Regions from separate parts of the Homo sapiens genome. Here regions 1, 2 and 4 are each linked to region 3. The links are contacts of gene promoters, found by promoter capture Hi-C in blood cells and fetal thymus (Javierre and others, 2016). All regions are on one chromosome and are shown on one strand. Each heading gives the region's core, a stretch centred on a gene start or on the middle of the fragment in contact. The rest is flanking DNA. Distances are from core to core; before and after follow the strand shown. Region 1 has its middle 4.7 kb from the start of SAMTOR. Region 2 overlaps LOC107986837. Region 3 holds the start of IMMP2L (inner mitochondrial membrane peptidase subunit 2). Region 4 overlaps TMEM168 (transmembrane protein 168).

What was found. Contacts are between HindIII fragments. The CHiCAGO score rates a contact against its expected background, and 5 or more counts as called.
Region 1: a contact is called between a fragment that was not itself captured here and the fragment with the promoter of IMMP2L in region 3, in 7 of 17 cell types (non-activated CD4 T cells, total CD8 T cells, total B cells and 4 more). The highest score is 7.8, in non-activated CD4 T cells.
Region 2: a fragment that was not itself captured here is called in contact with the fragment with the promoter of IMMP2L in region 3 in 1 of 17 cell types (naive B cells); the score reaches 5.5 in naive B cells.
Region 4: a fragment that was not itself captured here is called in contact with the fragment with the promoter of IMMP2L in region 3 in 1 of 17 cell types (non-activated CD4 T cells); the score reaches 5.3 in non-activated CD4 T cells.

What each region holds. Positions count from the first base shown.
Region 1 is chr7:112,941,752-112,947,379 of GRCh38, forward strand. No RefSeq gene overlaps it. Among named protein-coding and RNA genes, the nearest start is that of SAMTOR, 4.7 kb to the left of the region's middle. The HindIII fragment of the contact is 418 bases long and covers 1,088-1,505 here.
Region 2 is chr7:113,121,595-113,126,452 of GRCh38, forward strand. The region is part of intron 2 of LOC107986837; the gene reads left to right. Among named protein-coding and RNA genes, the nearest start is that of SMIM30, 5.5 kb to the left of the region's middle. The HindIII fragment of the contact is 2,327 bases long and covers 1,538-3,864 here.
Region 3 is chr7:111,559,878-111,565,146 of GRCh38, forward strand. IMMP2L (inner mitochondrial membrane peptidase subunit 2) reads right to left here and starts at 2,615. Exons shown (of 6, transcript NM_032549.4): 1 at 1,974-2,615. RefSeq lists a silencer at 2,147-2,776. The HindIII fragment of the contact is 1,654 bases long and covers 1,456-3,109 here.
Region 4 is chr7:112,781,341-112,786,573 of GRCh38, forward strand. It overlaps TMEM168 (transmembrane protein 168), which reads right to left. Exons shown (of 5, transcript NM_022484.6): 2 at 2,358-3,613. The coding sequence starts at 3,485. Among named protein-coding and RNA genes, the nearest start is that of TMEM168, 6.4 kb to the right of the region's middle. RefSeq lists an enhancer at 1,191-1,650. The HindIII fragment of the contact is 2,070 bases long and covers 2,351-4,420 here.

The sequences.
Region 1 (5,628 bases), core at 47-2,546, 1.4 Mb after region 3:
ATTTGTCCATTTCTTTAATTATACATTCCATCAGGCTAAATTCCTAAAAGTTCAATTTCTGAAGCAAAGGGTCAAACATGTTAGGGTTTTGATGTATATTATGAAATTGCCTTTTCTGAAAGATAGTAGCAGTTTATGCCATGTCCACTAGTACCTATGGGTGTTTATTTCATTGCACCCTTACCAAAGGTAGGTATTACAATTTACAAAGTCATTAATGAGATTTTAAAAACATGTCTATTTTTTAAATAAATATGTGGAATTTCCTGCTGTTTCGTAACTAGCTATTCTTATTGGTATAATATTTAACTTAAAATACCAACGTAAGAATAAATAAAAGGAACTTATTTAAGACTATCTAGTTGTTGTTGTTCAAGCAGATTGAAGAGTCCTACCTTTTAAAATTACTTTTTGACTTCACACTTTCTTGAAAAGCAACCGAAGAAATAACAATTGGACAGCCAGATTTTATTTTAAAGAAAATGAAATCTTTTTATTTTCTTTAAATTTTTTATTTAAAAAATGTTTTATTTAAAATTTTCATTTAAAAAATTTTAAATTTTTTATTATAAAATAAAGATTTTATTTTAAAAATAAAAATAAGATTTATTTTATTTTATTTTATTTTATTTTATTTTATTTTATTTTGAGATGGAGTTTCACTCTTGTTGCCCAGGCTGGAGTGCAGTGGCGCATTCTCGGCTCACTGCAACCTCCGCCTCCTAGGTTCAAACGATTCTCCTGCCTCAGCCTCCCGAGTAGGTGGGATTACAGGCATGCGCCACCATGCCCGGCTAATTCTGTATTTATAGTAGAGACGGGGTTTCTCCATATTGGTCAGGCCAGTCTCAAACTCCCGACCTCAGGTGATCCACCCACCTTGGCCTCCCAAAGTGCTGGGATTACAGGCGTGAGCCACGGCGCCAGGCACAGATTTTATTTTAAAGATGCGTGAATTCAAATGAGGTATAGGCCAACATGTCCTGAGAAATATTTTAAGGTGATTTTTTTTCCACTGACTATCCACCACAGCACAAAAGGGAGTTTATAACTACTTTCCTCCTGTGTAGTTAGCAATATTACAAAAAGCTTTCTATCTGTTAAGGTTGCTGAGGAGTCATAATGGAATTCTCCATTTAAGTGAAACAACAGTCCTAATTGCTGATAAAATGGATTCACTGAAGGAAGCAGGCTTGGTGCCATATTCAATGAGCATATCCTATGCCCAGGAAAATGTCAGCAACTTTCCCCACTTTGTGGTGACAGGTTTTTATTTACTGTAAATATCTTGTTTTAAAAAATTCTCTCATTATTTTAAATGCCTGTTAGGGAAAGAGGATGTTGGAATAAAACACTCTTCACTGAGCAGGACAAACCAGTCTGGGAAGTAGAGGCTTTTCTAATGACCGCTCTAAACCCCTGATAAGTAAATTTCTCATCCTCATTCTTTGCCTTACCTAACCAGCTTCTGTACCTAATTCCTTACACATTAGGTAGGTCAAGTAAGCTTCCTTTGTTCAAGAACCACTCAGTACAGAAAAAATGTTTTTGGTGAGAAAAATACCTTGTCATCTTTGTTTACAGTTATATTCTTTATAAGTAACACAAATTCCTACAAAGGGTGTAAAGAGTCAACATATTGCAGTAATAAAATATGTTCTATTCCCAGTGTGAGTTTGAAAAAATTAATGGGTGATGAAAAGTCAACTTAAAAATCCATATCAAAATCTGGGATGAGGCACTGAGGTAACCCGTAGATTCTGGGTGTGCTTTGTAAAAGTGTTGTACATTTCATTCTGACCCTCTTGAGTGTTGCTGTAGAAGAGAGAAGACTACATAATAGAAGTTGGGGTTCTTGGCCAAATTTGGTGGCTCACACTTGTAATCCAGGCACTTTGGGAGGCTGAGGTGGGAGGATCACTTGAGACCAGAAGGTCGAGGCTGCAGTGAGCCATGATTGTGCCGCTGTACTCCAGCCTGGGTGACAGAGTGGGACCCTGTCTCAAACAAAAAAAAGAAAGAAAGAAAAAAAAGAAATTGGGCTTCTTTGAATAATCTAAGGCATTATTTATTTTTATTCTTCAGTGACTTGGTATTATCTACTTTGCTTTGGCCCTCTTTATTATAAAAATCATAAAAGCAATTAGACTTTAATGTTGCATAATAAAAGTATTAATATTAAACTTCTGTTTCTAAAACATAAAAATGTTAAAACAACAGTGTATGTCAATTGTGCAAAAAGACTTGATCAGCTTTATTATTGAAGATACAGCTGTATTCCAAGCTGGACAAATCTTTGGTTCATGACTATTTAGAAATAGAATCTTTAGGAATTCAATTAAAATGAGGACTGGAAAAGTAAAATCTATGTCATTTTGAAAATATTTACCACTGTTTCCAAAATTCTTACCCATGAATATAAAAATATCCATGAAGTTTAAATGATTTTTTGTATTCAGAATTTTAAAAAGTAGATGTATCTTTAGTTGAGCACATTATAGAGAAATTGTTAAGCCTTTTGTTTTTCATATTTTATTTCAAATCATAGAAACTTTCTTTGGAAAATTCCGTATTTAATGTTTTGATAGAGACAAACAGTGGAGAACTAACAAGAAAAATATTTTTAGTGATATATTTCTATTCAATATGGCAGATTACAACTTAAAAATCCTTCTATTGATTAAAAATTAAAAGGGTTATTTTCTTTAAAAATTTATGTCTTTAACTACTATTTCAATGACTTCCCTGCAATTCATAATTTAACTGCGAACATTAAAAGTATTCAAAATAACACATAGATTTGTTATCTTTCAAAAGTTAATAGACTGGTGTTAACCAAGTGACAATCATTAATTAATGCTTACCTCAAAATACAATTATAAAACATACTATTTTGTGATATACTAATTAATGAAATATATCTGATAATCATAACAGGGCTAATGTAGGAATAGATCTACATAAAAAAGAAGTACACTTCTTCTAAGTGATAATGTCCTTACAATGAAATGTAGGACTAAAATTTTCTGTGTCCTAATTCCAGCCTTGCATTAACCAACAGAGCAAGGTTCTCTGAGCCTTATTTATCCTCTGTCAAATGTAAAATGAAGAGATTGGATTTGACTAGTGTTTTTCAATTTTTTTTTTACTGTGACTCTAGTAAGAAATACATATTACCTGATGGCACAGGACACTTAGACATATACGCTACATGTATATATATATATGTACTCTACATATATATATATTATAAATATATATATATAAATTTATACCCACATATATAATGAGGACAAAAGTTTCACCAAGCAATACTTATCTTCACTAATGCAGTGCATGGTGGTATTTTCCATTCTATTTTTAGTTTTTTAAAACTATAGGGTGTACTACGTTGATTTTATGGCCCTCTAATGAATCACAGCCTAAAATTTATAAAATACTGGCAATTGGAAAGATCCCTTTCAGTCCCCAAACCACAGTAATTCTATGACTCACATTGATTTTGAGAAAGCTTTATGAGATGTACCTTACCATGTTGAGTCTACTCATTCCTTTCAAACATCATTTTTACCTTGGGAGATTTCTTACATTCTGAATGCGGGCTCAGAGAAGTGACCTAGACTCTGCTAACCATAGTCTCTGAATGAAGTGTCTATTTGGAAGAGAGCAAAATGACGAAATAGAAGCCATAGGGAATCTTTTGGCCTGTTGAGGGAGAGTGGAGGTGTAGTTCTTTTAGGATCACCAAGCCCAAGGGTCTACCTTCCAGTGTCTAACATTTGCTTTATAAGCCAAATAATAGGGGCAATGGGTCTTTCCCAGAGTAGTTGCTGGGTCGACTTATGTGGGGATCTGGGCTGCGTAGTCTCCAAGTCTGCCTCTCTGATCCTTCTGGAGATCTGGGATGCCTTTTCTATTTGAACTCGCTGAAGTGAGTTGTATTTTTTTATTGCACAGAGGTGGCTAGTGCTGAGACATTCTGGAAGAGAATTAGGTGATCGAGAAGCAGTGTTTGCTAGCTTTCTCTGTGACTTGAAGTGATCTGCTATCTGCTAGGTTCCTTGGTTTCCTAGCTGTCAGATAATGACGACTTACCATTCCTACCTCACAAAGTTGTGTGAATAAAAAGAAATTACGGACTGAAAGTGTTTCAAAAAGTTAAGAAAGTACAAATGTGAATAAATGGTATACATGTAAATTGTTTCTAAGGGGCCAGAAAAAGTGAAATTTTTCTAAATGCAGGAAGCTAAATTTACACTTCTTTTATTAAATGTACATCAGTCTCTTTTTAGATTTTAATAGTTTGTCACTGACTTCCCATTTTTTTCTTTTCCTGAAGGTAGAACATATTCCCATATTAGCTCTGAAATTACAAGGTTTTATATGTCCAAGTATGAAGTAATCACCATATAATTCCATATAATTCCTAAAGTTGACTGTTATCTCTCCCCCAAAGTTTTTGTAAGATAATTAGAATAAATGTTTTATGAAAAGCCAGATCAAAATTTACTACCATATTTTAATAAACATATTTCTTTTTTAAAAATTATATATATTTAATTATTTTTAAAAAATTTTTCTTTTTAGAGATAGGGCCTTGCTGTGTTGTCCAGGCTGGAGTGTAGCAGCGCAATCATAGTTCACTGTAACCTCAAACTCCTGGGCTCAAGTGATCATCCCCCTTCAGCCTCCTGAGTAGCTAGGACCACAGGTGCATGTCACCATGCCTGGCTAATTAAGTTTTTTTTTCTTTTTTAGAGATGGGGGTCTTGCTGTGTTGCCCAGGCTGGTCTTGAACTTCTGGTCTCAAGGGATCCTCCCTGCCTTGCCTTTCCTAAAGCAATGGGATTACAGGCATGAGTCATTGTTCCTGACCACATGATGTTTTGATATACACAGTGGAATGGTTACTGCAGTCAAGCAAGTTAATATACACATCTTCTCACATAGTTACCTTTCCCTCGTTGTGTGTTAAAAGCACCTGAAATCTATTCTCTCAGCAAATTTCCAGCATGCAGTGCAATACTATTAACTATAGTCCTCATGCTATACATTGGATCTTTAGTCTTACTCTCTAGACTTATTCATCCTACATACAACTACAGCTTTGCACCCTTTTACCTCCATCTCCCCATCCCCTTTGTGTGTTCCCAATCCCCACCTCTAGTAACCACCATTCTACTCTCTGTTTCTATGTATTTGTCTTTTTTTTGGAGATTCCAAATGCAGTTTTAATTTACTTCACCATGTAATTCAAATCACTACCATTTGAAAGTGACCATATCATTCAAATCACTACCATTTGAAAGTGTGCAGGGGCCTTATTAATTATTATGCTAAGACAACAGGCATACATTGGGACTTTCTCAGACAAACTGAGATGTGTGATATGTGGCCACCCTTCTTACACTTCAGTAATTTCTACAAAAACAGGAGGACAGATCAACAACCCGGTAGAAAAATGGATAAAGGATATGAACAAATGATGATGATGGCAATAAGAGTAACCGCTTACATGGTGCTTATTATGTTCTAGGCACTGTTCTTGATATTTCTGCATACGAATTATTTTATCTTTACAACAACCCTATGAGGAAACTGAGGTACAAATGAAGAAACTAAAGTAAG
Region 2 (4,858 bases), core at 1,451-3,950, 1.6 Mb after region 3:
TAATAAGGGGATCACCAATCTTCATAGGGTTGTTAATGCAGATTGAATGAGGTGACATGTAAAGTGGCTCAGTGTGGTCAGTGTAAGTGACACTATTATTGGCAACAGACGACCTTTCAGAGATGGAAGTAGCTGATCAAATAATATTTATTAAGTGCTACACAAGGAAATTTAAAATCAGAATTAGCTTACATCATGAGAGATGAACAAACATTTATTATGGAAAAAAAGATTTTCTTAGAAAACATGGTTTCATGCTGCATAGGGTCAGATTGATTGATTGACATTTATATTTAACAAACACTTAAAATAGTGACTAATATGCACCAGTAACTATTCCACACATTAATAAATATAAGCCCCTCTACTCCTTAAAATAATCCTGTGAACTGGATACTATTATTATTCTCTGATGAAGAAATTGAGGCATAGTTAAGTAATTTACACCAGGTCACATAACTAGTGAGTGGTATATATCCAGGAAATATGACAAACTTTATACTTTTAATCATTGTCCACATACTGTTATGTGGAAAATGTCCACAGGATCAAAAACCATTTTAATTTTCTTTTTAATAAGGTGTTCTAATGTCGCTTAGGAAGCCTAATCATGTTGACTACTTGAGGGGTTGCTGGTGTTTGTGTACTTCCCTCTAGGCCCTAGTGTGGTGAATGAGGGGGTGCCAGTATTCACCTAATTTATCAGTGGATTTTGACTGAGATTTAATAAATATGTACAAAAAAGTGTTTTTTTAAAAATTGAAGTATATCTGACCCAGGCGCAAAAGCACACATACTAACGAGCATAGATGTTCCCTGTCAACATAGATTGTGAAATGTTGGAAAATTTCAATTATCATGAAATAACTGAAGTCCATATAATATACAAAATTCAAAAAGAAAGTTAAAGAGACCCTTTGAAAATCTTTGCAAGAAGAAAAGATAACTATTGGGTATTGAGCTTAATACCTGGGTGATGAAAGAATATGTACAACAAACCCCCATGACACGTGTTTACCTATGTAACAAACCTGCACATGTGCCCCCAAAGCTCAAAAGTTAAAAAAAAAAAAAGAAAATCTTTGCTAGGGGTCAAGAGTTTAAACTAGTCCCTGCAAAAATGTAGGGAGGTTACTAACAATTCAGTATGTGCATTTCACAGGGAAATATTAATTCCCCTGTGTAGACCAGGTGCTCATTATGATTAAGAGCTGGTAACCATGGAAACAAACAGCATGAAATTTATAAAATTAAAGACATGCTGGATAGAAAATGCAAATAGCCTAGGACAGTGAATCTTGCCCCAACCAGTCTTAGCTTGATTTCCCTTGAATTGAAAGACTTATGAAATTTCTGTCTGGCCATTTTTTGAGTAAAATCACTCAATTTGAGAAACTGAATTTACACTTTGGATATCTCACTTTGTTCATTTGATAATACCTTTTTGAGTCAATCTAGACATGTTGCAGTGTATATAAGGCTAGAATGTATTGGTTAGCAGTATCTAGGAAGTGGTTACTTTTAAATTGATTCTGGAAGCTTAAATGAGTACTTGAACCTTTTATGTAGACATTTATTGTGAATTTCCAGTTGACATACTGTAAGTGATCAGTCACTTTTAGTTTCTAAATTTCTTTCTTTTGCTAAATCACATAGGTGGTCCAAGTAGAACACTTTATGGTAAAACATCAGTTTCTGTGTCACGGAATGATTTACTTATCTATGAAACGGTGAGTGAGATGGCAATAGTAAAGTTTCTTTACTCTTGCTTGTAATATTTTGATTGTTTATAAATCTATTCCTTGAGACCATTAAGACAACAGACTACTTGTCTGTAAATACTCTAAAGTAATGTTGTTTGAATTAAAAATCTTTATAATTTTTAAAATGACAAAAATCTTACTTTCTGCAAGAATAAGTTTACTCAAGGAGGTTGCCAGATTTTCCATTTTACTTTAAAGATAATTTCTTTATCTTAAAGGTGGAATAGGTTATATTAAAAAGATTGCAACTGGTTCAGTTGAGGAAAAAGTCCGGTACAACACTATAGTTTCATTTGATTTTGATTTGGACTCATTTTAATGCATTTTACGCTCTCGTATCTCAGGAGAGTCAAAATAAGTAATTGACCTCAATCTGACAGCCAGAATGAAGCACTGCTTTTGCGAGCATGCCTATCAACACTCGTGAATGTATTTGTGGTGGCTATATAAGGGAAGGGACATAATCCTTTCATCTGCCCTGCTTCAGTAACTCCTTAATAGAATACCGTACGTATCTTTGGTGACCAGACATTAAAAGGGACCTACACAGACAGTAGAGGATCCAGGGAAGAGTGACAGAGTTTATTCAAGTTATCCAAAATTGGTCCTGGAAGAGTGTTCTCAAAGTGTGTTCTGTGTTTCACTTGCATCCCAATTATATGGGGAATTTATTTTAAAATGCAAAACTTTAAAATAAGTTCTCCTGGTAGTTCTTAGGTTCATTTGGTCTTAGAGCCTTTGCCATTTTATGGAGGCTGATTATTTGGGAAGTGGTGACATAGGGGCAACTGAATGACATTAACCTGACGTTAAGTTAATGATGCATTTAACAAGACCCAGTTAGAATTATTCATCTTGCTTTCCTGGATCCCTTCTCAGTTATTGATGAAGTGGAAAATACAAATACTTTTTACTATTTGTATATGTATCAAATGACATTTTTTCTTATCATTTCTTATAGCCTTTCATTTCTGTCTTTAAGTTTTTTTTATTTTTATTTTTATTTTTTTTTTTTGAGACGGAGTCTCGCTCTGTTGCCCAGGCTGGAGTGCAGCGGCGCAATCTCGGCTCACTGCAAGCTCCGCCTCCCGGGTTCACGCCATTCTCCTGCCTCAGCCTCCTGAGTAGCTGGGACTACAGGCGCCCGCCAACACACCCGGCTAATTTTTGTATTTTTAGTAGAGACGGGGTTTCACCGTGTTAGCCAGCATGGTCTTGATCTCCTGACCTCGTGATCCGCCCGCCTCGGTCTCCCAAAGTGCTGGGATTACAGGCATGAGCAACCACGCCCGGTCCTGTCTTTAAGATTTAATTTTTTAAATATGTAAAACCATTCTAATGATTTCCATCATTAAAAATCAGAACCATCTGATTCCTTGAAGAGAACAGAGCCTTTGCTAGCACTGAGAAGGACTCTGAGTAACAAAATGGACAGTACCTCAGTTATAAAAAATAACAATGTGGATATGAATTTTATGTGGTTATTTCTCATAACAACCTCTGTCAAAGATTAGGACAAAGTAGTAAATGTGAGTCAATGAAATTGATCAGAAAGGTGTTGTGGGTTCCCAATATGTATGTTTCTGGTGACAACATTAACCAAAGATTGAATTTGTAAGGTCTTGGACCTATCTTCCCTGAACATTTCTTCTCTCAGTAGGTATTTGGATGAGAGCTGGATATCCTGGAGTGCTAGTATTCTAAATTGCTGGCTAAGGGCCCATCCATATGCTTTGGAACAGAGAGATAGTTATCCTATTATGAAAGTAGTGAGATAGTTATCCTATTATGAAAATTAAGTAGCTCTAACAATTGTCCTTCCTACATAGATATAGCTGGATAAAGTGGGGCTTGGGCCCAGAATCCTACCTCTTTTGGTTATATCACACTGATTTCTCATACTGTTTTTAGTATTGTAATACCCACATAGTGACAATCCACAAATACTTATTGAATAAGTTAAAAGCTAAGACTTTAAGGTTTTAAGATTTTAGCCAACATAAAGCTCAGTTTGCATCAACATGTATGACATAGCCACCAAAACAGTGATTATGATCTTCGGCTGCAGGAATTGATGTGAATTATCTAGAAGAGGGAGGGAAGCTTTGCTTTGCTATTTCCAGTGTGGGCTATGCCCAGCAGTTTGCTGTTCTCTTATGGGTTCCTATTTTAATAGAAACATTAACAAACTGGATATTAACGGTATAATGATGAGATTAAACTCATTAGTTGAAGAACATAGTTGAAAAACCATGGGATGTAAATGAGAAGACTCAATGAGAATGTCTGCCATTTTCAGTGGCTCATCCCATAGGAGAGACCATAAAAGAAAGAAATTGGACCTGTTCTAGATGGCCAGTGGGGGAAAGTAATGGGCATGTTTTTAGCTTGATAGAAAAAAAAGCTCTTCTAATATTCTAAGAGGGAATTGGCTGCCTCAGTGAGCAGTGAACTCTTGATCAGTCAGAAGGGTAGCTTAATGAACACTTGACTAGGATGTTGTAGAAAGGATTCAGACTTCAAAAAGATAGTCGTATTAGATGTCCTTGAAGCTTCCTTCTAAACCTGGCATTTTCTGATTCTCTTATCTCCTCCCCGCACCCACCCACAAGTCCTGTGCTGGTTGTCTGGTACTCATTACAAGAGCTTGTTTTAAGAATCTCTGAGACACTGTTATTTATCTTTCCAAAGGCTTTATTTTTAGTATTTAAGAATTTCTATATTTCTTTATTTGAAACTAGGAGAAAAATAGACTTTTTTCTACTTCTGAAAACTTTGGTTAATATTTTGTTAACATTTATATATACCTAAATATATATGATAGATTCTTAATATTGTTGTTAATATTTTAACATCAGCCTGTGTAATTGATACTAATTTCATAAAATATCATGTAGGCTACAGTGAACAGATGAAAAATGGGTTTCGTATATTTTATTTATACCAGCAACGGTTTATAATCTGAGGATCAAGATATAAGGTTGATCAAGCTTTTGAATGTGATATGTCCTGAAAGTGGATTTCTAATGGAATACCTACAAAATGGTTTTTTGCCGTGAGTCAGAATGATCTCAACAGTCTTGTGTATATCAAGT
Region 3 (5,269 bases), core at 1,365-3,864:
ATGTCCAAAAGACTGTAAAAGTCATGCTACTTCTACATGAAGTTGTGGGGTGGAGTGAGGAGGGGTGGTAAATAGCCAAGAAGAAGGAGAAAAAGAAAGAAATTTACAATTTTATCAAATAACAGTGAAATATATATATATAAAACATGTATTATGTTCCACATATGTTCCATATATAATACGCAGTTAAGATGTATACATGTTTAACATATACTTAAGCTGCATATTTAGTATGTGTATATATGGAACAAAAAGTTGAAGAAACAAGTATCAAATTGTTAAGTGGTCATCTGAAAGTGGACTCATAGGAAACTCACTTATTGCCTTTTATACCCTCCCAGATTTAATTCTAAATAACTTTTTTTTGACTTTTTATTACTCTTATAACCAGAAAAAGACAAAGAACTATTCTAGCTTAGATCTTTTAAATGAGGCTAAATGCACAGAAACCCATGCAAGTTAAAAATGGTCTACTTTCGAATTTATTTTTCTAAGTACATCATCCTTTACACTCTCCATGATTCCTAATATTAGGTCCTTCTTATGGAACAACTACAAAAGTTATCCTCATCTAATTATTATACTCGTACACTGGAAAATGACTATAACATTATTCATTATAGGAAACAAATCATCAAGGTCAGCCATCCTTGTAAGTTTATTACTGAAAGTACTAGAAAGGCGGAATAATAATTCTGTTCTCCCACAACACTGTATAGACCTGCAAACCACTATGATCAGTAGTACAGGGAAAGTCTTGTAAATTAACATGTAACTATTGAGAAAATCCACAAAACTGGTGAAAGGCCTACCCCAAAACAGCCATCTCCAATACAATCTCATCATTCTCACCATCCTACTTTTATCAAAGTGCTGATAAAAGTGCGTAGCACATGGTAAGAGAGAATTAGCTATTGAATCAATGAAGGAACCCATTATCAATAAACAATCACTTCCTGTTTTCCATAAATTATGTGGTCACCTATCACTTGAGCACAAACAAATAGGCACGTTCAGGACACAGGCAGCCAGTATCAGAATAGGCAGCCTATCACAGAGGGCAATTCTACTTTTCCTGTGTAAGAATCCAAGAATGCAGTTTTACTACATTCCTGCTTGTAGCTAATCTGAATTTCAACTAATTTAAAACGGTTATTTATATGTGACATATAGGATGCATAATGAGCTCCCAACCTTGTGAGAGGAGCTGTGTTTCATTTCACCATACAGGGGAGAGGGAAGCAGTGTATTAAAGAAGTGATAGAAAAGTCCCACAGAAGAACCAATGAAATAGACCACACTGAAAATCACAGTAAGCCTCAGAGAACTTCAGTGTCCTTTTTGGCAACTTTTCAAAAGTGAATGGAATGCTTGCCAGGAGGTACCAAGAGTGAAAGCCCAGAGAAAAAGGCCCAGCCTGGTCATCTCTCTCCCCTCAAAACATCTTCTTCTGTAAGCTTGAGAGATCCCAAAGAACTTCAACACTTGTAATCTTGTTACTAACTTTATGCTTTGGGGTCCTAAAGGATTTTTTCAGGAGTACCCTTTTAAAATGTAAACATCCCTAGGGGGGTTACTGTTCATTATCAAACAGGACCTGGATTCTTTAGTGCTATGGTCTCAGGGATTAGTCAAAGCTGGCTAATAAGATAGGGGCCGGAGACAGACAACTAGAGAGGACCAATGTTCCAAGGTAAAAACAGGTAAAGGGGAAGTGCAGTTTTCTGTCGGGTCAAGGGGCTAAAAGGGATCCACATGCCCAAGCTGTTAAACTCTATAGACTGTGTGAGGCTGAAAACAGTCCGGGGCCTGGAGCCTGTGACTTTGAAGGTGGGTCCTCCAGTTCCCGATGAAAAGGTAGAATCTGGGCCCAAGTTCCCCACGAGCAGTTCTGGACATCTAGCCCTTCTCTCTCTCGCTCGCTCTCAGGATAAAGTCCTAGGTCCTTCCACCCCTGACCATTCCTTACTTACCCTTTCTCCCGCTCTTCCTCGGTGAGAAGGGGTAAGTGGTTATTTTGTGCCCTCGCCCAATTTGGCCAAAACCCTAAAAGTAAAAAACGACAGACAGACACGTGCTTTAAAATCATGTTGTTCAAGCCTGACGCTCTCCCACCACCTGCCCAACACTTCCAGGCAGAAGGCAGCGCGCCCCCACAGCGCTCCCTCACGGCCAGAGCCGGGGGCCGGACTAGGCCCCTTTGTGAGGACTGGGAGAGGGCGCGTTGTTGGGGCGCCGGCTCGGCGGGGAGGAGCGGGCCAGCTCCGGGCCAGGTGTGCCGCCTGTGGCGCCGGTTTCTCAACCTAGTTAGCCAGTGGCACCAAGAAGAGGACTAGGCTGGGGTGGCCGCCGCACGCGCCTCAGATAAACACGCGCACGCACACATGCTCGCGATCACGCAGGACTCGCGGCCGCGCACCCCTCCGCCTCCCGGCAACGCCCGCCCCGCCGGGGCCGGGGCCGACTCCCAGGGAAGGGTCCCCAGCCCAAGAGACCACCAAGGGTCGGCGGCTACGCGCCCGCCGACCCCTGCCAGCCTCACAGCCCCCCACCCGCCGCCGGACGCCGGGCGCCCGCCCTCCGCACCCGCTGCGCAGCTCAGCCCGGGGGAAGTCCCCGCGCAGACCCCGCCCTCCGCCGGCGGCAAGCTCCGCCCCGCTGCCCCGTCGCGCGCTGGCCGCCCGAAGCTCCGCCCCCGGCGGAAAACTGGTCTCTGGACCGCCCGCCCAGGTCGGGCTCAAAATGCGGCGTGGATCTGAAAGGATCAAACACAACACTAATTCAGCAAGCTATTATTGAGCACTTGCCCTAAGCTCAGCAACGTACTAATGGGGGAGACTACAATAAAGAGCCGAAAAGTCTATGAAACTGTGTCTTCAGCTCTTCCTCTTGTTTTAGAAGCCAGGAAACAGAGAACCCTCACAGTTACTTAAGTACAGGGCAGTAGTGGCAAAGCACCTCACTAGCGATCTCTGGGCAACTCTTCATTTCATTTTTTCCTACTCATGAGCACTCAGGAAAACTATTCAGTTTTGCTGCCTCCAGGTAAAACAAAGTGAGTAACACAGGACAGGCGGTTTACTTGAGAGAAACGGGAATTTCATACTGAAGCTTTTGCCCTCAAATGGTACAAACTCTTTTTTTTTTTTTCCTGAGACGGAGTCTCGCTCTGTCGCCAGAGCGACACTGCAATCTCCGCCTCCCGGGTTCACGCCATTCTCCTGCCTCAGCCTCCCTAGTAGCCGGGACTACAGGCCCCCGCCACCATGCCCGGCTAATCTTCTTGTATTTTTAGTAGAGATGGGATTTCACCGTGTTAGCAAAGATGGTCTCCATCTCCTGACCTCGTGATCCGCTCACCTAGGCCTCCCAAAGTGCTAGGATTACAGGCGTGAGCCACTGCGCCCGGCCGAATGGTACAAACTCTTAACTGGGTTATTACAACCTACAAAGAAACCTTCTTATCCATGTTATTAATTATCCTAATTCAATGTGGTTTAAAATGTTGATGAAAGTACCCAAATCATGGTGCTCCAACAAGCTGGATGCCAACCAGGTACTCGTAAGTACTTGCAATTACAGGTGCGATATTTTCATTCCATATCATCCCAAGATGCCCTTCCTTCACGTGAAGCAGCCAGAAAGATCAACTACCAGATTCCGCATGATTGAGGAATTGATAAATAGAAAGGGAAGACCGAAACCGGCCAAATTTTCCCTTCGAAGTGAAACTTGAGAAACTTGCGTGCATTTTACCTGAGTTCCTTTCTCAGCAGATAAACTGTCAGACCTCCCAGATAGTGTCAAGGAAATGCAACTTTCCAGAACACTACATCTGGACAATGAGGTGCATCTGCTGCCTGTTCACAAACTCCTCTTCCTTACCCCTCCATAATTCCCTGCTATAGAAAGCCCTAACTTTAGTCTCCCTAAGACATGTTTGAGACTGGTCTCCCTGCCAGCATCACCTGCATTAAAGCCTGTCTTCCCTGGCAATACTCGTTGTCTCAGGGACTGGTTTTCTTTGCTAGGAGCAACCCAACCTAGGCTGAAGCCCAGGCATTTAGCAGCAGTGGCACCTAGAAATACTGAACAGACATAAAATACTTTTTTTCTCCTTTTCTTACTCCTCCAGTTGTATCTTCATTATTTCTGTCTCTATTCTCCCTCTAGATACTGCCAAACTACTCTGTGCACTTTCAGATCACTTAATACTAATGTAAATAACAGACATTCTGGCACTCTTGGTTCAAAATTTATTCTAAAGGTTTAAGAATCTACTCAGGGTCTTAAATAGCCTGATAACTAAAATTCCAAGAGTTTCCTAAAGAGAGCAAAATTGCTCTCCTGTGAAGGGGATATGTCCCAGTTTTTCTTACTTGTCACTGAAATAATTACTGCAAAGTAAGCTCTTTTCGGCCAGTGCTTAAGGACTTAATTTCAAGAGCACTTAGGTGACAGGACCACCCTCATCAAATAGCAGTCAAGAACTATTTGGTACCATGACCCCAAATTGAATGGAGCTCCTGGTCACTAGGAACTGACAGTCTGGGATGGAATGTAGGTGAATAAACAACAAAGACAGGTGTTTATGGCCTTTATTGTATTGGGAAGTCAATAAACATACAAAAAGAGTTGCTAGGTCTGGCCTGATTTTATCACTAAGATTCATCAAGTGTACTTAAAAAGAAGCTAATATCTGGAAAGGGCAGAACTATGGTATATTAGTCAGGGTTTCCTAGAGGGACAGAACCAATAGGATAGACATATAAATATAAAGAGGAGTTTATTAAGTATTAACTTACATGATGACAAAGTCCCACAATAGGCTGTCTGCAAGCTTGAGGAGCAAGAGAGCCAGTCCGAGTCTCAAAATTGAAGAACTTTGAATCCGATGTTTGAGGGCAGTAAGCGTCCAGCACAGGAGAAAGCTGTAGGCTGAGAGACTAGGCCAGTCTCTCCTTTTCATGTTTTTCTGCCTGCTTTATATTCACTGGCAGCTTATTAGATGGTGCCCACCCAATTAAAGGTGGGTCTGCCTTTCCCAGCCCACTGACTCAAATGTTAATCTCCTTGGCAACACCCTCATAGACACACCCAGGATCAATACTTTCTATCCTTCAATACATTCAAGCTGACACTCAGTATTAACCATCACATATGGAGACAGTAAAAAGATCAGTGATTGCCAGAGGTCACAGAGGAGGGGGATATGAAGCACAGATTTTTAGGGCAGTGAAACTATTCTGTATGATATGATAATGGTGAT
Region 4 (5,233 bases), core at 2,136-4,635, 1.2 Mb after region 3:
ATGCCATGCCACAAAACAAGTGGCCTAAAAGACTAAAATCACACAGTGTTCTCCAACTACATGGAATTAGAAATCAATGGAAAGAAATGTGAGAAACTTCCAAATATTAGGATATCACACAACAAACTTATAAATAACCCATGAGTCAAAGAGGAAATTTCAAAGGAAATTAGAAAACATCTCACCAGATGGCATAGTGCTAGCACAATGGTAGACATATAGGTCAATATAACAAAAAAACTCAAAAATACAACCTTACGTTTATGTTTAACTGATTTTAAACAAAGACGCCAAGGCAATTCAATAGGCGAAATGTTAATCTTTTCAACAAATGGTGCTGGGAACAATGAGATCTATATATTAAAAAAAAAAAAACAAACTTAGATCCTTATCTCATACTATACTCAAAATGGATCATACACCTAAATGTAACAGTTAAAACAATAATGCTTTTGAAAGAACTGTGACCTAGTGTTGAGCAAAGAATTCTTAGATAAGATACTAAAAGCAGAGCCCATAAAAGAAAAAGTGGATAAACTGGACTCTGTAAAATTAAAAACCTTTACTCTTGAAAACTCTTCAAAAATTTGTATCATTCAGAAAATAAAAACAGAAGCCACAGACTGGGAGTAAACATTTCCAAATCATTTATCTGACAAAGGGCTCGTATCCAGAATATATAAGGAACTCTTAAAAGACAAATAACCTCAGCTTTAAAATGAGCAAAAGATGTGAATATTTAAACAACAAAGTAAATGGCTAATACACACATAAAAAGATGCTCAACATCATTAGTCATTAGAGACATAAATTAAAACCACAATGCTATCACCTACAGCTAAAGGGATTCTCAAGTAGATCAACTTTAGGAAAGAGTAGAATGGAAGGTGAGAATCAGGAAACTGATTCTCTTAAAATTATCTCTGCTGACAGACTCCTTGGAAAGTTTTTGTGTACCTCCAGTGGTACACACCATATCTGAAGACCACTAGGTAAGAAAAAGTTTGGAGACCAAGAAAATATTCATATTTGGTTAACAGAATTTGAAAGCCTGGAATGGCATCCAGCATGAATGAGGCTGACTTGGAAAAGAAAAAGTATTTAGGGCTGGGAAAGGAGCTAGCAGGAGGAGGGGCAAGGAAGAGGGAGGAAAACTCATGCTTGAGTTTTTGACATCAACAACATAATTCTGACAGTACCTAACACCAGCAAGTAGAGCAAAGTAAGGACAATATCCTCAGGCCACACCCAAGATGTTTTCCTCATTTGGCTGACTCCCACACAGGATCCCTGCCCTAGCCCAGCTGACTAGAAATCTAGCACCATGTCCAGGCAAGTCTTCACATCTCCCTCTTCAAAACACACTTCTAGAAATCACTCAGCAGCAACAAACTGTTACAAAGCAGAGAGCTGCACCAAGCAGAGCTGACTTTCCTCTAGAAATCAGTCAGCAGCAACAAACTCTTACAGAGAGCTGCACCAAGCAGAGCTGACTTTCCTTTATGCCCCACATCCCAGTCTGATGTACACAGATTATAGTATTTATCACACTGTAATCATAATTGTTTGTTTACATGCCAGCCTCTTCCTCCTCCCATTGGAGACTGTGCCACCTTTGACAGACATCCTGAGATCTTCCGCACCCACTATAGTGCCTGGCATATAGTGCATAGTCAATACATGCTCAATTAATGGAAGACTGGGTTTGTTAATACTGCAGATGCAAACTCCAACTGTACAAATGTCTTTGTCTACAAGAACCTTTTAGAAAACATTTCTGGGCAGCAAAGGTACTGTGAAACCCATGTTTTCTTTCTTAGGATAACCTCTAATCTATAATTAAGAACCTGCTATGTTGTTATATATCTGATCACCTTTTATATAAAACCTTCAGAGAAATGGCTGCATAAAAGAAACATGTTACAGTGAGGAGTCCAGGGAATAGACAGAAGTTAAGTAACCTTGTTCCTGCTAGTACTAGTGACTCTGGATGTGTCTTCTTTGGCTTTCAGTTTCCTCATGGGTATAATTAAAGGATCAAAATACAATCTTTAAATACTTTCCAAATGTTAGTATTCTAAGACTCTTTAATCGATGAGTGTTTCACTAATGAACAGTCAGGAAGCGGGAGGCATCTCAACGCTGAGTGTTCATAACATTTTGGTACCTCTTTGCTAGAGATCAAATAAATTATCCTCTTGAAACACATTCAGTGCTTCAATTCCATGAACAAAATTAAGAGCAAACATGAATATCCTTTTGAAATCAGGAACTTGACCTTATAACTTTAATTTCAATTATTGAAGCTAGCATTTTATTACACGTCATTGGGGTTGCTGGACAAACAATAAGCTTACCTGCCAGGAAACTGCTCCCAAAATCGCTGTTGCAAGAAGACTAAAGAACACCAACTGCTCTGAAATCAAGCAAAAATGGCGCATCCCTTTGGATGCCATGATTCTATCAAGGCTATTGTAATCTGTCCTGTGAGTAAAATATACTTTATGGCAGTCATTTAATTTGGTATGGAATCCCCAAAGAGTTAAAAGAAAAATAATATGACAAATCATCCAGAAAATTCCAAAAATGGAAAAGCCAGGTATTACAAAATACCAGAGGTGAGTGTCTCTAAGTTTGAATGCGGAAAGAATAAAAAATGTAAGCTCAATCATTCCAGCAAAAACGACTGAAAGTCTTCTGCAAATTCTTCCACGGTACAAAAAGGGTTTCCATCTTTCAGTTACTGAAAGTCCACTAAAATAAATGTCAAGGAAAGGATCAGTTATCAGGCAAATAAAAAAACACGCAAAAGCAATCGGATTTTTGGGAGTTTCCAATGAGGAAAAAAATAACAAAACTGCAAAAATAACTAAGTTTGGAATAGCTAAGAAAGATTTCATTCTCAGATCAATAATCAGCATAGCCAGAGCTACAACAAGCAAAATGACACTCAGAGACTTCTCCACCAACATAGTTGTGCTGGCAATGGCAAATCCAACAAGCTCCAGAAATTCAACTGTGGTTAGTAAAGTGGGCCGATGACGGACATAACCAGAAATTCTCTCCACCAGAGAGCACAATATCCTTAACACTATGGATGTTAGAAGCAAATATTTGGTTGATTCTTCTTTTACATCATTTTTAAAGGATGAATTATCAAGAAAACATAGGAGGCCAAGCAAGAATCCAAACCAAAGATTGGAGAGACTTAAACTTGCTGCTTCCATTGAAAAATAGTAATAGAGTATGCTGGCGATTCCAAGAACAAAAAGACCAAGAATAAAAATTACCAAAATTAAGGAATTTGCTGTTTTTTCCCATCTTACGTATAGACCTAAGCATATAGCAACCAATAAATTGATTCTGGCTAAATAGCCAAGATACCGCACTGAAGAATGCATGTTCACTTCTCTATTTACTTCTTCCAGTCTTGTCATTGCTAAATAGAGACAATGACTAAAGCAATAACGCAGTGATTTACACATGTAACCAGCAATGTGGGCTTTTCCCTCACGTTACAAAAATTAACCGCTTGTATTTCATCCAGTATATCCAATGTATCCGCAACTCCTATTTCAACATTTTCTCTTGTGGAAATTTTGTTTATAGTGATCTAAAAAGAAGAAAACAATATTTCAGAGTTAATTTTATATAATTTACTCATTATTTTATATAAAGATGCATATAGAAAGTGAAAAAATCCAGTTTAAAAACTGAAATCCAGTTTACAACCTGATTTGCAATATCTTAATGAATACTGTTTCTGGCTTAAAACTTGGCAGTTTATCCAGACAGACATGGCTGTGCTTTCTACTCATCATATGCTATGACTGCATGAATAGAACTGTTCTTCCAGAGATGGTGAAGAATTCACCTAATTCATTCTGGTTTAAATATCTGGTTTTTCAACAACAAGGAAAGGTGAAATGTTCGCTTTAGCTTAGATTGTAGCAGGTTTTGGTACAAGAGAAAGCTACTTAGTTCTTAAAGTGAATGAAGGACTTCATCGTTACCTCTAATTTGAAAAGCACTTGTATATATTAGTAGTAACAGCAACCATTACGACCTGCCAAATATCCCCTACATCTTTTTACAAGCCAGCTCTAGAATGTTACACAAGGTCTTTACATTGTTTAACTAATAAACTTACTAGAATTAAAGTATTAAAGTTACTCAGTCCCTAAAGTTGAGCCATAATTCTCCCTGTACTTTTATCTCTATTAAATTACTTTGATTACTAAACTTGCTTTCCAAATCTAAACACTATCTCTATAGCAAACCAATTCCTGACAAATTCCGAGTCAAAAATGAAAAACTGAAATGCTCACCCTAATAGTCATTATAAAGTAAATGAAGAACTTTTCAATTCTACTTAAACAAACGTTACTACAAGTATTTGTTAGTGGACCCACGAAATTAAAGCTTCCACAAGTCACACCTAAAAAATGATAGTAGTCAAAAAATGATTTAACCATCTATAATAATTCTTCAAAATTTCCTAGTATACTGTTTCAAAAGAACTGATCAATGGTTCACGGTAATGCTATCTAAAGAGAACCCAATCAGATATTTAAAAAGAAACTAGGGCCAGGCACGGTGGCTCTCTCCTGCAATCCCAGAACTTTGGGAGGGTGAGGAAGGTGGATCACTTGAGGTCAGCAGTTCAAGACCAGCCTGGCCAACATGACAAAACCCTGTCTCTACTAAAAATACAAAAATTAGCCAGGTGTGGTGGGAGGCATCTGTAATGCCTCAAGAGGCTGAGACAGGAGAATCGCTTGAACCCAGGAGGCGGAGGTTGCAGTGAGCGGAGATCACGCCACTGGACTCCAGCCTGGGGGATAGAGCGAGACTCTGCCTCCAAAAATAAACAAAAAAAACCCACGAGTTTTTGATTAGTTTATTTGTACTTTCTTAATAGCTGTACACTAAAAGGCTCAAGAGAAACATGAGAACCTGGAATCAACTCTTAGTACTCATCTGGCTGGAGAGGAATGTTACTAAAGCAACCTTAGGGTCTCTGGGAAGTTCCGAGTATTATTACTTATTTTGCTTTTATACGTTCAACAAGCACATTTTTTTTTATTTTTACAACTAAGTCTATTTAAGTATTCCAACTGATTTTCCTTAATTACATCTTTATTCACTCATGTCTTAAGGTACCACATAATGTTAAAGAAAATGTCTTCCTTTGGTATATTTTGGTTTATCTTTTTAACTTGAGTGTGAGAAA